Regions from separate parts of the Homo sapiens genome. Here regions 2, 3 and 4 are each linked to region 1. Evidence: promoter capture Hi-C in 16 types of primary human blood cells and fetal thymus (Javierre and others, 2016). All regions are on one chromosome and are shown on one strand. The core of a region is centred on a gene start or on the middle of the fragment in contact, and the rest is flanking DNA. Distances in the headings are between cores, read along the strand shown.

Region 1 (2,655 bases), core at 114-2,613:
ACAGCAGAGAATGATTGATCTTGCTTTACAAGGGGCTAGTCTTAGGGTCAGCCCCAAATCTGAACTCAGGTCCTTCTACTTCTCAGCAGGTCTCCGGGGCATTACCCACCTTGAGAACCTCTGGGCCTATTATCTACACTGTCTCTGCCTAGGTTCCCAATACCCTTGGGCCAAGGAAGAGGAAGAGGATGTTTCCTTCCCCAAAGCCTGTTTATTTTCACCCCCAGAATAAATGAGTGCAGACTTCTATTTCCTTCAAAGAAAACTCCACCTACAAAGTATGACTTGACCTTTACAAGCCATATAAAGCAAACATAGTAGTTAATAGTACATTTAGTCAAGTCGGAGTTAAATCTTAAATGATACCATATGTAGGATATCAACAGTTCATCTTAAATCTGTATTTCAGGGAAAGAATTTCTCTAGGATGTAGAATGTAATCTAGGTTAGAATTTCTCTAATTTTGCAGGGGCACGATCCTGTTGAGTATAGACCCAATTTACATTTCTAAACAAGTTATGCCAGTGAAGCCAAAGGCAGACAAAGTTTCTTAGCTACACTCTTAGACAAGAGAACAGAAAGCCAGCATACACTCTGAGAAAAAGAGGAACATGAGTTAGGAATGAATGCACGTTAATTTAGTGAGTTTCTTAAGTGTCAATATGGTTTCAGATGGAATCATTGAAAGAAATAGGCTTGAACAAGGAAGACTCTAAACTGGCAATGAATTTTCCACTGGGTTTTGATGAAATGAAGGAATCCAAAAATTATAAAATAGGTTGGGAATGGTATTACACGGTCCAAAATCTACCCTCTAAAGACCAGCCTCTGGTCCCTCCAAGTGCGTCTCCTTTACATCTCACATTAAGTATCCTTCGAGTACTTCTGAAAAGCCACATTCACCAGGGTGCCTGTGCTTTGTCGTAGCTTCCAAGAAGTCAGCGAGTGAAAGGCCAATTTCCAAAGTGATTCGGGAACCACTGACACTCGCATCGCTCTTGGAAGACATGCCCACCAGAACCGCGCCCGGGGAGAGCGCCTTCCGCAACGGGAGGGCCCCGCAGTGGATTATCAAAAAGGCCACGGTCATCGGGTGAACACAGACCCCTCAGTCCTCCCGCCTCGCTCTCTTGAGACTGAGGGGTCCGCAGAAGTCGCCACCCAAATAAAACCACATTCCTGCTGCTGCGGGCGTGGGCTCCCGGGTCGCAAGCCGGGAGGGTCGAGCCGAAGTCTCCGGCGGGCCGCAAGAGGAGAAGGGGGCGTGGCTGCGTCCCGGGGGCCGAGGGCGGCCGGGGAGGGCGGGCCTTGGCCCCGAGTGAAGGCGCGGCGGCCCAACCGGCGTGAGAGCGCGGGGCCGGCCTTCCTGCAGCCTCTTCCGCTCGCCGGCTGCGGCGCCTGGGACGGTTGCGGTGGGTCTGGGCGCTGGGAAGTCGTCCAAGATGATTAAAAAATTCGACAAGAAGGACGAGGAGTCTGGTACGCGCGGGGCTTCCGAGGCCCACCCTCAGCCGCGGGACGCCCCTTCCCCCGCCCGCCGCCACCTGCTTTCAGGCCGGCGGGGCTGGGGGCGTGGGCGCCGCCGTGCCAGGGGGCCGGAGCTGGAGCCGGCCCCTCCCCTCCCCTCGCGGCTGCCCGGGGCCTGCCCGTAGCCCCTCCCCCGGGCGCCGGAGCCTCCCTTCGGGCCGCGCGCTCCCGCCCCGGCGCCCGCGCGCGCCCCGTTCCCGCCCCTCTTGCGGCGCAGCCCCTCCGAGCCGCCTCCTCCCCTGCGCGCGGGCCTCCGGCGGGGGCCGAGGGCGTGCGCGCGTCTCCGCGTCCAGGGGTGCTGGTAGGGTCGGACCCCTAGTGGGAGCACCCTGTTCCCGGGGCTGGGGTCGACGGCACAGGGTGTGTGTGGAGGAACGTTCAGGTGCCTGGTACCTTATCGTTTTCCTGGGGTCACCGGCTCTGTCCAGGTCCCCGGGGGCAAGACTGTCCCGTGGGACACAGCTCGTTGAATGCTCAGGTGTCCAGAAGTGACCTGCGTCTTGATGCCCGTCTTTGGTCCAGAGCAAATGGGGAAGATGCCAAGCATCCTCAAAAAGAAAAAAATTCTCAGTGTTTGGTAGCATCTCCCACAGTGTGAGAGGGGGTTGGGTTAGTCAACCTCCATGGCCTCTTGCACCTTTACGCCTGCATGATTCTCTGGGAAACTTCGTTTCTGCCTCTCCTTAAGTGTTAGAAACACATAAAATACTGCTTACCTAAGGAAATCAAAAGCACCCTACTACAATCTCATTAATCTTCGTTGTTGTGGAAATGACACATTTTTAACATTCATGGAAAAAGAGGGCAGGGAAAGAAGACACTCATTTTGGAGAGGGTTGCTGCGAAAGAGAAGTCTCAGCTCTTCGAGTATGGCAGTGACAGAGCCGGGATCAAAATGATTTCATTCAGTTCGTATGCGTATTAGCCATGATTATCACTGTGCCATCCAAGTGTTCACTTCCCAAGCATTCAGTACCCTTCTCTGGAAAGTATATAAGTTTGTGTAGAACAGCTGTTCAGGACATTTTTTTGTTTTGTTTTATAAATAGGTAGTGGCTCCAATCCTTTCCAGCATCTGGAGAAGAGTGCTGTTTTACAGGAGGTATGACTGGGAAGTATCTTGTGCCC
Region 2 (2,655 bases), core at 56-2,555, 490 kb after region 1:
GGGCGGATCACCTGAGGTCAGGAGTTCAATACCAGCCTGGCCAACATGGTGAAAACCCCGTCTGTACTAAAAATACAAAATTAACCGAGCATGGTGGCAGGCGCCTATAATCCCAGCTACTCGGGAGGCTGAGGCAGGAGAATCGCTTGAACCCTGGAGGCGGAGGTTGCAGTGAGCCGAGATCGTCTGGGGGGCAAGAGCGAGACTTCGAGACTTTGAGACTTTGTCTCAAAAAAAAAAGAAATGTCTTTTTGATTCCTTTACCCATTTTTAAATTTGGTTATTTGTCTTTTTGTTGAGTGGTAGATGTTTTCTTTATATATTCTAGATATAAGCCCAAGACTCTTAGCAGATATTAATCACAAAGTTGTATAAAGCATAAAGACTATGTAATAATAGTAATTTTCCATCACCTATTTTCAACTCTCTTATCTGCTAAAGGTAAAATTTTAGGGTGCCATATAAATTGCCTAAAATATATATACTATAACTTAGTTATTAAGTAATTACCTTTACCAATAATGCTACGGTGCATATCCTCTTACCTAAATCTTTGTATACATTTGTAATTATTTCTTTAGGATAATTTCTTAGAAGTAGACTTGTGTGTCAGTAGGTGTGAATATTTTAAGATTTTTGTTATTGTTTTCTAGACAGAGTCTCGCTCTTTTGCCCAAGAGGGAATGCAGTGGTGCTATTATGGCTCACTACAGCCTCAGCCTCCTGGGCTCAAGAGATCCTCTCACCTCAGCCGCATCCAAGTAGCTGGGACTACAGGCACACACCACCACACCTGGCTGATTTTTGTATTTTTGTAGAGATGGGGTGTCCAGGTTGGTCTTGTACTCCTGAGCTCAAGCACTCCCTCCACTTTGGCCTCCCAAAGTGCTAGGATTACAGACATGAGCCAATGCATCTGGATATATTTCAAGGCTTAGAAGATACACATCTCTCCAAAAAGCTTTTACCAGTTTGTACTCTAGCAACCATGACACATATAGGAATGTTTTTCCTAACATTGGATATTGCTAGTACAGTTGGATATTTTGAAATTTTTAATTGCTTTTTACATTTCTATGCATAGTTATCTTGCAGGATATGATAAAAGAAATCACTACCATAAAAAGCTTCTGCTTGTCCTGGCATAATGGGCAACTTCTAATTCAACTTATTTTGAAAACAATTGTGTGTCTTTTTATACATGTCTTATACAAATTTTCTGTATATTAGTTGTTTATAGATTTGCCAAAATCGATTTGGCTGCTTCTCTGGGGAAGGGGAGGAGGGGGTGTTGCATGTGTAAATCTGGCTATCTTGCTGGGAATGGTTCTAGGTAATGTAGATCGTGCAAATTAAAATGCTTTCTTTCATTTATTCCTTCGACATTGAGTGCCTAGTCTGTTCCAGGTGTTAATACTATTCTGGGCACTGGGGGATACAGCAGTGAGCAAAATGGCCAAAGTCCCTGCCTTCATTAAGCTTTCATTCTAGTAAATGAGATAGACAATAAAAAAGATAAAGTACTTTGGGCCAGGCACGATGGCTAACACCTGTGATCTCAACACTTGGGGAGTCCAGCGTTGGTGGATTGCTTGAACCCAGGAGTTTGAGACCAGCCTAGGCAATATAGTGAGACCTTGTCTCTACTAAATAGAAAAAAAGAAAAAAAGTGAACCAGGTGTGGTGGCATGTGCCTGTAGTCCCAGCTGCTTAGGAGGCTGAGGTGGGAGGAGGATTGCTTGAGCCCATTCGATTGAGGCTGCAGTGAGTGGTGATTGTGCCGCTATACTCCAGCGTGGGTGACAGAGCAAGACACTGTCTCAAAAAACAAAAAGAGAAGAAGAAAAAAAGTACATTGGACAGTGGTTAGTGCTAAGGAGGAAAAAAGCACAGGAGGGTAATGTTATTAATGTTTAGAGAGGAGGGGTGAAATTTGAGGTAGGGTCGTCAGGGGAGACGTCATTGACTTGTATGAAGACCTGAAGGTAGTGAGGAACCAGCTGTATGAACACATGAGAAGAGCATTTTAAGTTCTTTTGGAAACTCACTTTTAGAATAATCAGTGTTCTCTGTGTTTTATGTTAACAGAGGCTAGTATTACTAGCTTGAAACAAGCTGCCCTGGTTAAAGCGCCTCTCATTCCGACTTTGAACACAATCGTTCAGTATCTAGACCTTACTCCAAATCAGGAATACTTGTTTGAAAGGATCAAAGGTAATTATTGATTTGAAGAGAAAAAAATAAGAGCTTTTTTACTATGCTGGAATTTTATCAGTGAAGATTAACAAGGAAAAACTTTTAATTAAAAGTATAACATGTCTTATAAATACGTATTAATTATAGCTTAATAACTTTATTTTGTGTAGGAAACTTAAATATGAGCTAAATGGGCTCCAGTGACTATTTCACTCATTTCCTACTTTTAGACTCATAAGAATGGGTGCCATTATGACATTCTTTATAGTTCCGGTGTGCTGAGCCTTATTTCTCTTAATTTTTATAATTCCTATTTAATAAGTTTCTTCCTTATATTTCTGTGATATTCTTATTATTTGGTGGAAGATGTGCTCTCCTGAGGAGACTGACTTGAGAATCAGGAAATGTAGGCTCCCTGACACCCCCATACACCCTCTGTGCCTCTCTACTTACAGAGCA
Region 3 (2,655 bases), core at 65-2,564, 460 kb after region 1:
CCACCGCGCCCGGCCGGTATTCTAATTTTGATTGCACCTTGAGCCCTTTCACTTTGAACAATTTTCCAGTTAGTTCATCTCTAAATCTAAAACTAGAGCAAAACAACATTGCTGCTAAAGCAATCTAAAAATGATAAAACTTAACAGCTCTTCAAGAGCACAGCATACCTGCCGATTTTCATTAATATACAATACCACGTGGTATTAATCTTAGGATCATTTTAGGAAAAACTTTGGCCATTGGACATACATGATGTAATCCACTAGCTTACTGTGGCATGGCTTAATGTTTTTATTAGGAGGCACACTTCAGAACAAGTCCCCAGGCCCTGGGTTTCTGGCTGTGGACTCTAACGCGTCATCTCCTCCAGGAAGCTCGCGAGAGCTGGGGCTGGGCTGGATGCGCCTCCTTGGGGAGCACTGCATCCACCTCACCTGCCACCGAAATGCATCTGTGGGCCTCCGCTGGGGTTGAGCTCCTCTGGGTAATAACCAGGAAGGTCTTATTTTCTATATCCGTGCGCCTGGCTCAGCGGCACACTTGTAGGTATTTGTGCTAAATAAAACAAAGCTCAACCTTTTCCTCAGGATGAGCAGCTCTTCCAAAAAATACATACGAAAATGTGTTATTATTTTTAACCTCAAAACCACTAGCAACTTCAATAAAACAAATTTTGGGTGTGCTTGTTATTGCTGCACCCTATTAAACAGATTAAGAATTTAGGCCGGGCGCGGTGGGCCACGCCTGTAATCCCAAAAGGCGGTGGGAGGCCAGCAGGCGTTTGGGAGGCTGAGGCGGGCGGATCCCTTGAGGTTAGGAAATCGAGACCAGACTGGCCAACATGGCGAAACCCTGTCTCTACCAAAAAAAAAATTACATGGGGTCAGGACTCTTGACATAGATACTTTAACACAGGGGAAAGAAATGCTTTGTCACTGATGGTGTCTGGCCACTTTATCACGCCACTCTATCCTACGGTGAGCCGCCCTACTTAATCAGTTTACACATGTGAGTCCATAAATGCCCTAGGGAAGCTAAAATTATATTAATAGATACAAAATTCAGCTTGTTACAATTATTACTTTTTACTGCGGGTTCAGAGCCTGGTCTGAATTTTGCTGCTTAGCTTTCTCCCGCAGCTGAGTGGGAGCCGCAAAACCGAGACCTGTTTCCCTGGTAACGCTCCGAGCGCCTGGGCCTGCGACCCCTCCCTTTCTCGCGAGAAGAGACTACCTAGTTCTTCCGGTAACTTTAGAGCCGCTTGCCGGTGGCCTCCCGCTTGAGCTTGGCTTTGCGCATGCCCAGAGAGAGTGGCGCGAGCCTGCGTTTTCCGGCCAGAGGACATGGTGCGTTTTCGGGGTCGTGTTTGTGCTTCCTGTCTTGGAATCTACGCGGGTTGTGGGAGTTCCGCGCCTGCTGATCTGTCCTGGGTTCAGCCAAGGGGGATGTGGCTAGGCGTTCCGCCTCTCTAGGGGAAGGGAAGAAAGAAGCAATAGGGTTGCTGAAGTTCGTGCCCAGGAGCCGGGGAGGGAAGCTCTGGACTGGGAAATTGGGACGCGGGGGCTGAGTGGCGCGAAAGCTATTGCTCTGTCCTCTGTGGGATACGACTGCTTGTCGCTGGAACAAGTTTTGCACGGTCTGTAAGAGTTGAGCCTAGCTGAAGAAAGGAGGAATTATAAATCCCAAATGTGGACCAAAACAATGCACGTTTTCCCCTCTCTCCCTCTTACTCCGCTCACCACCCCATCATAAGTACGTGCCCTTCTAAAACTTGGATCCTTGTCCTTTATCCACACACAAAAGGGAGAGCCCTGGAGTACAGCTGTCCAAGTGCAGAGTTGTTGAGATAGTAATGGCGTCTGCATGAGGATGTACAACAGTCTTTATGACTTACAGCAGATATGGAATATAGTCTCCCAAAACTTGACATTTTGAGTTTCTGAAGTTAGCCTTTTGCCTAGTCCGTGTAACATACCCCAAAGACAAAATACAAAGTATTTCTAGACATAACCCTTAAATTACAAAATAAGACATTTTTATGTATTGGAAGTATTAAATTGTTCTTAAATAACCAGCCACGGCTGGGCGCGGTGGCTCACGCCTGTAATCCCAACACTTTGGGAGGCCGAGGCGGGTGGATCACAAGGTCAGGAGTTCGAGACCAGCCTGGCCAAAATGTTGAAATCCCGTCTCTACTAAAAATACAAAAATCAGTCGGACGCGGTGGCGGGCGTCTGTAATCCCAGCTACTCGGGAGTCTGAGGCAGGAGAATCGCTTGAACCCGGGAGGCGGAGGTTGCAGTGAGTCGAGATCGCGCCACTGCATTCTAGCCTGGGAGACAGCAAGACTCCGTCTCAAAACAAATAAATAGATAAATAACCAGCCACTTCTCTGTTGATTACACTGTGATGCCAATTAAGTTACATATAATTTTGGGTTCCCTTTTCATATACTGATATTAAAATGGAAGAAGTTTTGATAAAACATTTTAAAGATGAGAGAAGGTATATGCGGTTTCAGTTACCTTTATAAGGGATGCAAAATTTGGTTTTTAAATGGAGCAATAGTTTCTTCTGGTTAATTCCTGTGCTTTTTGTTTTTTCATAGATGCAGGGGGAGGCACACCCTAGTGCTTCCCTTATTGACAGAACCA
Region 4 (2,655 bases), core at 110-2,609, 440 kb after region 1:
ATGAGATTACATGCCCACCCTTGAGCCACTCATGGACCAGGAGAATGGCACCACCAGGCTTGGCTTAGACCAATCAGAACTTAACCGTAAATCATGTAAGAGAGCAGGAACAATGGAACAAAATGGAAGAAAGGAAAAGAATCAACATAGGCTACTTCAGACCCTTTCTGTATCTGAAGGGGTACAATCAGAGAAAAGAGACAAAAAGACGCTGACCCTAAGTGGCATTTCTCCAAGCCCTTTCGTCTCTTCCTCAATCCTCTGACCTGCCAGTCAGTCTTACTAACCCTGGCTGTAGACCCTTCCACTAGGACCTGGTTTTTATCTCTCCACTTCTCCTTTTGTGATTTACACTAATTAGTAGCAGAGTTAGCTCTCAGCCTGGTGTTCTCACTGCTAAATCAAGATTTGAACACGTGAAACTTCATGGTGACAGAGGGCCCTAATAAACAAAGACAATTAGAGACAACAGGCCCCTGCAATAAGGCGGCTTGAGGAACAGCTTGTGAAAAAGGCCGAGCTCAGAAGATGAAAGAACTGGAAAACAGTATTGCTCAGGATCATAAAATTTTTGTTTAAAAAAAGGATTTCATGCATTATCCCTTTGTGCACTGAGTGGAAATTTGCAATAAGAAATAACGAGAAAGGACAAGTATAATTTATTTATAATGCATCTTTCTCTTGCCAACTTCCCTGGGCCTCTCCAATAACTGCCAGTCTACATACAAAAAAGGTCAGCTTTCTATTTTCATCTGAGGTTTTGTTAAATTTAGATGGTAAGTGCAACTCTTCTTTACACCAAAAAGTGCCTATTATTTAAGATTCAGTTGGTATGTAATAGATATTTGGGGGGGAAAAAAGCATTTTCTTCCTTTTGTCTTCCTCTAATAGTATAGGAATGTATGGGCCTGATTTATATTTCCCCCACCCTCCCACCCACCTCTTTGACCTCTATCTTTTCCTGACAGATAGAGAATATCCAGGTGGCCTGGTACTTGGAAACTTGTCAGATGTTATTCAAAGCAATAAAAAACACATCATGCAAGTCTTCGGCATATTGTTACAAGGAAACCCTGTTTAGAATCCACTAATTGGGAATTTGTGATAATTTGAGGAAGGGTTTGCTGAAGTTAACCTTTGTACTATCTATGAAAAAAAAAGTTCACTGAAGTTCTGAATAGTAGTGTAAACAAGATTGGAAGGGGAATAATTATCTGCTTAAAAGAACCAGTTGTTTTGAAAAGCTTTAGAAGTATTCTTTTACATACAAACAGGGTAATTATGATTTAAACAAAGGCTGGCCTGTTTCTTAGGCTTCTTTGAAATGTCAATTACAAATAACTCTTGTCTATTCACCAAGCCAAAACCCACCCCTGTGTACCAGGCAACAGTTGGTTAGCTTGCTTCCACTTTTTGTATTTGAAAATAATAAACCTGAAGTTCTTTTAAAGTAGTATAATTTAATTCAAGCTTTTCACTAATTGAGACGGTCCATCCTATAGTGTGGGTGAGGATTTACTAATTCCTAGCAGACAATTGGGAAAGCATGGAGTGATAGTGCCTTCACTAATTTAGTGGTATTGCTAGATGATACAGGAAAATCTACAAAGAAAACTACTCTAGAGCAGTGACTTTTGTTTTTATCTTTTTTTTTTCTATTTTTAAATATTTTTCTAGAGACAGGGGTCTCACTATGTTGCCCAGGCTGGTCTCTAATTCCTGGGCTCAAGTGATCCTCCTGCCTCAGCTTCCTAAAATGCTGAGATTATAGGTGTGAGCCACTGTGCTCAGCCCTTTTCTCTTATCACACATAATAAGAAATACATTTTACATTGCAATTCAGTACACACACACTTAATAATACTTACCCTTGTTATGTGTGATATGCTATTACTTTCTATTATTTTTATTTATTTATTTTTTTTAGACAGAGTCTTGCTCTGTTGCCCAGGCTGGAGTGCAATGGCATGATCTCAGCTCACTGCAACCTCTGCCTCTCAAGTTCAAATGATTCTCCTGCCTCAGCCTCCCAAGCAACTGGGATTACAGGCGTGTGCCACCATGTCCGGCTAATTTTTGTATTTTTAATAGAGACAGAGTTTCGCCATGTTGGCCAGGTTGGTCTCGAACTTCTGGCCTCAAGTAATCCGCCCACCTTGGCCTCCCAAAGTGTTGGGATTATAGGCGTAAGCCACCACACCCAACCAACTTTCTGTTTATTATTTAATAAATGCGAATCATGACCCACTAAATTTATTTCACAATCTGCTAATGGGTTGTCATTTTCAAAGTACTACTTCTAGAATGTGTTGGAAGATAGCACTCCTTCATTAGATAAAGGAGTGGCACTGGGGAAGAGTCGTAGTTGCTATCAGGTTTTCTTGATGGTGTTCAGCTTGGTGTAGAGCCCACACCAGACTCTGCACAAAAGCAACATCCAGCCATGACTAGTGTCTGCAGTCCCACTTTCATAACCGTCTCTTCTCACCAGATCTGTACCTGACCATGGTTTTGCTCCTCTTTCTATGGTTCACCATGTCCTGGGATGATGGAGCAAGGTAGCCCACTCACATCAGAGTTCTTACTCCCCATGCGGTCTGAACCCAGATCCCCTCCTCCTTTTCCTCCACTCAAACCCTTGGCCATCAACCTCAC

Evidence for each region. Contacts are between HindIII fragments. The CHiCAGO score rates a contact against its expected background, and 5 or more counts as called.
Region 2: a fragment that was not itself captured here is called in contact with the fragment with the promoter of COPG2 in region 1 in 1 of 17 cell types (M1 macrophages); the score reaches 6.0 in M1 macrophages.
Region 3: the fragment with the promoter of TMEM209 here is called in contact with the fragment with the promoter of COPG2 in region 1 in 1 of 17 cell types (fetal thymus); the score reaches 5.3 in fetal thymus.
Region 4: a fragment that was not itself captured here is called in contact with the fragment with the promoter of COPG2 in region 1 in 3 of 17 cell types (megakaryocytes, erythroblasts and M2 macrophages); the score reaches 6.4 in megakaryocytes.

Annotation. Positions count from the first base shown.
Region 1 is chr7:130,667,456-130,670,110 of GRCh38, reverse strand. It overlaps COPG2 (coat protein complex I subunit gamma 2), which reads left to right and starts at 1,363. Exons shown (of 24, transcript NM_012133.6): 1 at 1,363-1,479; 2 at 2,577-2,629. The coding sequence starts at 1,443. TSGA13 (testis specific 13) reads left to right here. Exons shown (of 8, transcript NM_052933.4): 8 at 928-1,468. The coding sequence ends at 1,097. RefSeq lists silencers at 991-1,100, 1,191-1,780 and an enhancer at 2,051-2,160. The HindIII fragment of the contact is 8,378 bases long and covers 1-2,655 here.
Region 2 is chr7:130,177,961-130,180,615 of GRCh38, reverse strand. TMEM209 (transmembrane protein 209) reads left to right here. Exons shown (of 15, transcript NM_032842.4): 10 at 2,089-2,214. Among named protein-coding and RNA genes, the nearest start is that of TMEM209, 26 kb to the left of the region's middle. The HindIII fragment of the contact is 352 bases long and covers 1,130-1,481 here.
Region 3 is chr7:130,204,065-130,206,719 of GRCh38, reverse strand. It overlaps TMEM209 (transmembrane protein 209), which reads left to right and starts at 1,314. Exons shown (of 15, transcript NM_032842.4): 1 at 1,314-1,347; 2 at 2,610-2,655. The coding sequence starts at 1,345. It also overlaps a transcript of SSMEM1 not described here. RefSeq lists enhancers at 1,050-1,159, 1,220-1,399, 1,076-1,875 and a silencer at 2,537-2,655. The HindIII fragment of the contact is 16,046 bases long and covers 1-2,655 here.
Region 4 is chr7:130,226,708-130,229,362 of GRCh38, reverse strand. No RefSeq gene overlaps it. Among named protein-coding and RNA genes, the nearest start is that of SSMEM1, 20 kb to the right of the region's middle. The HindIII fragment of the contact is 226 bases long and covers 1,247-1,472 here.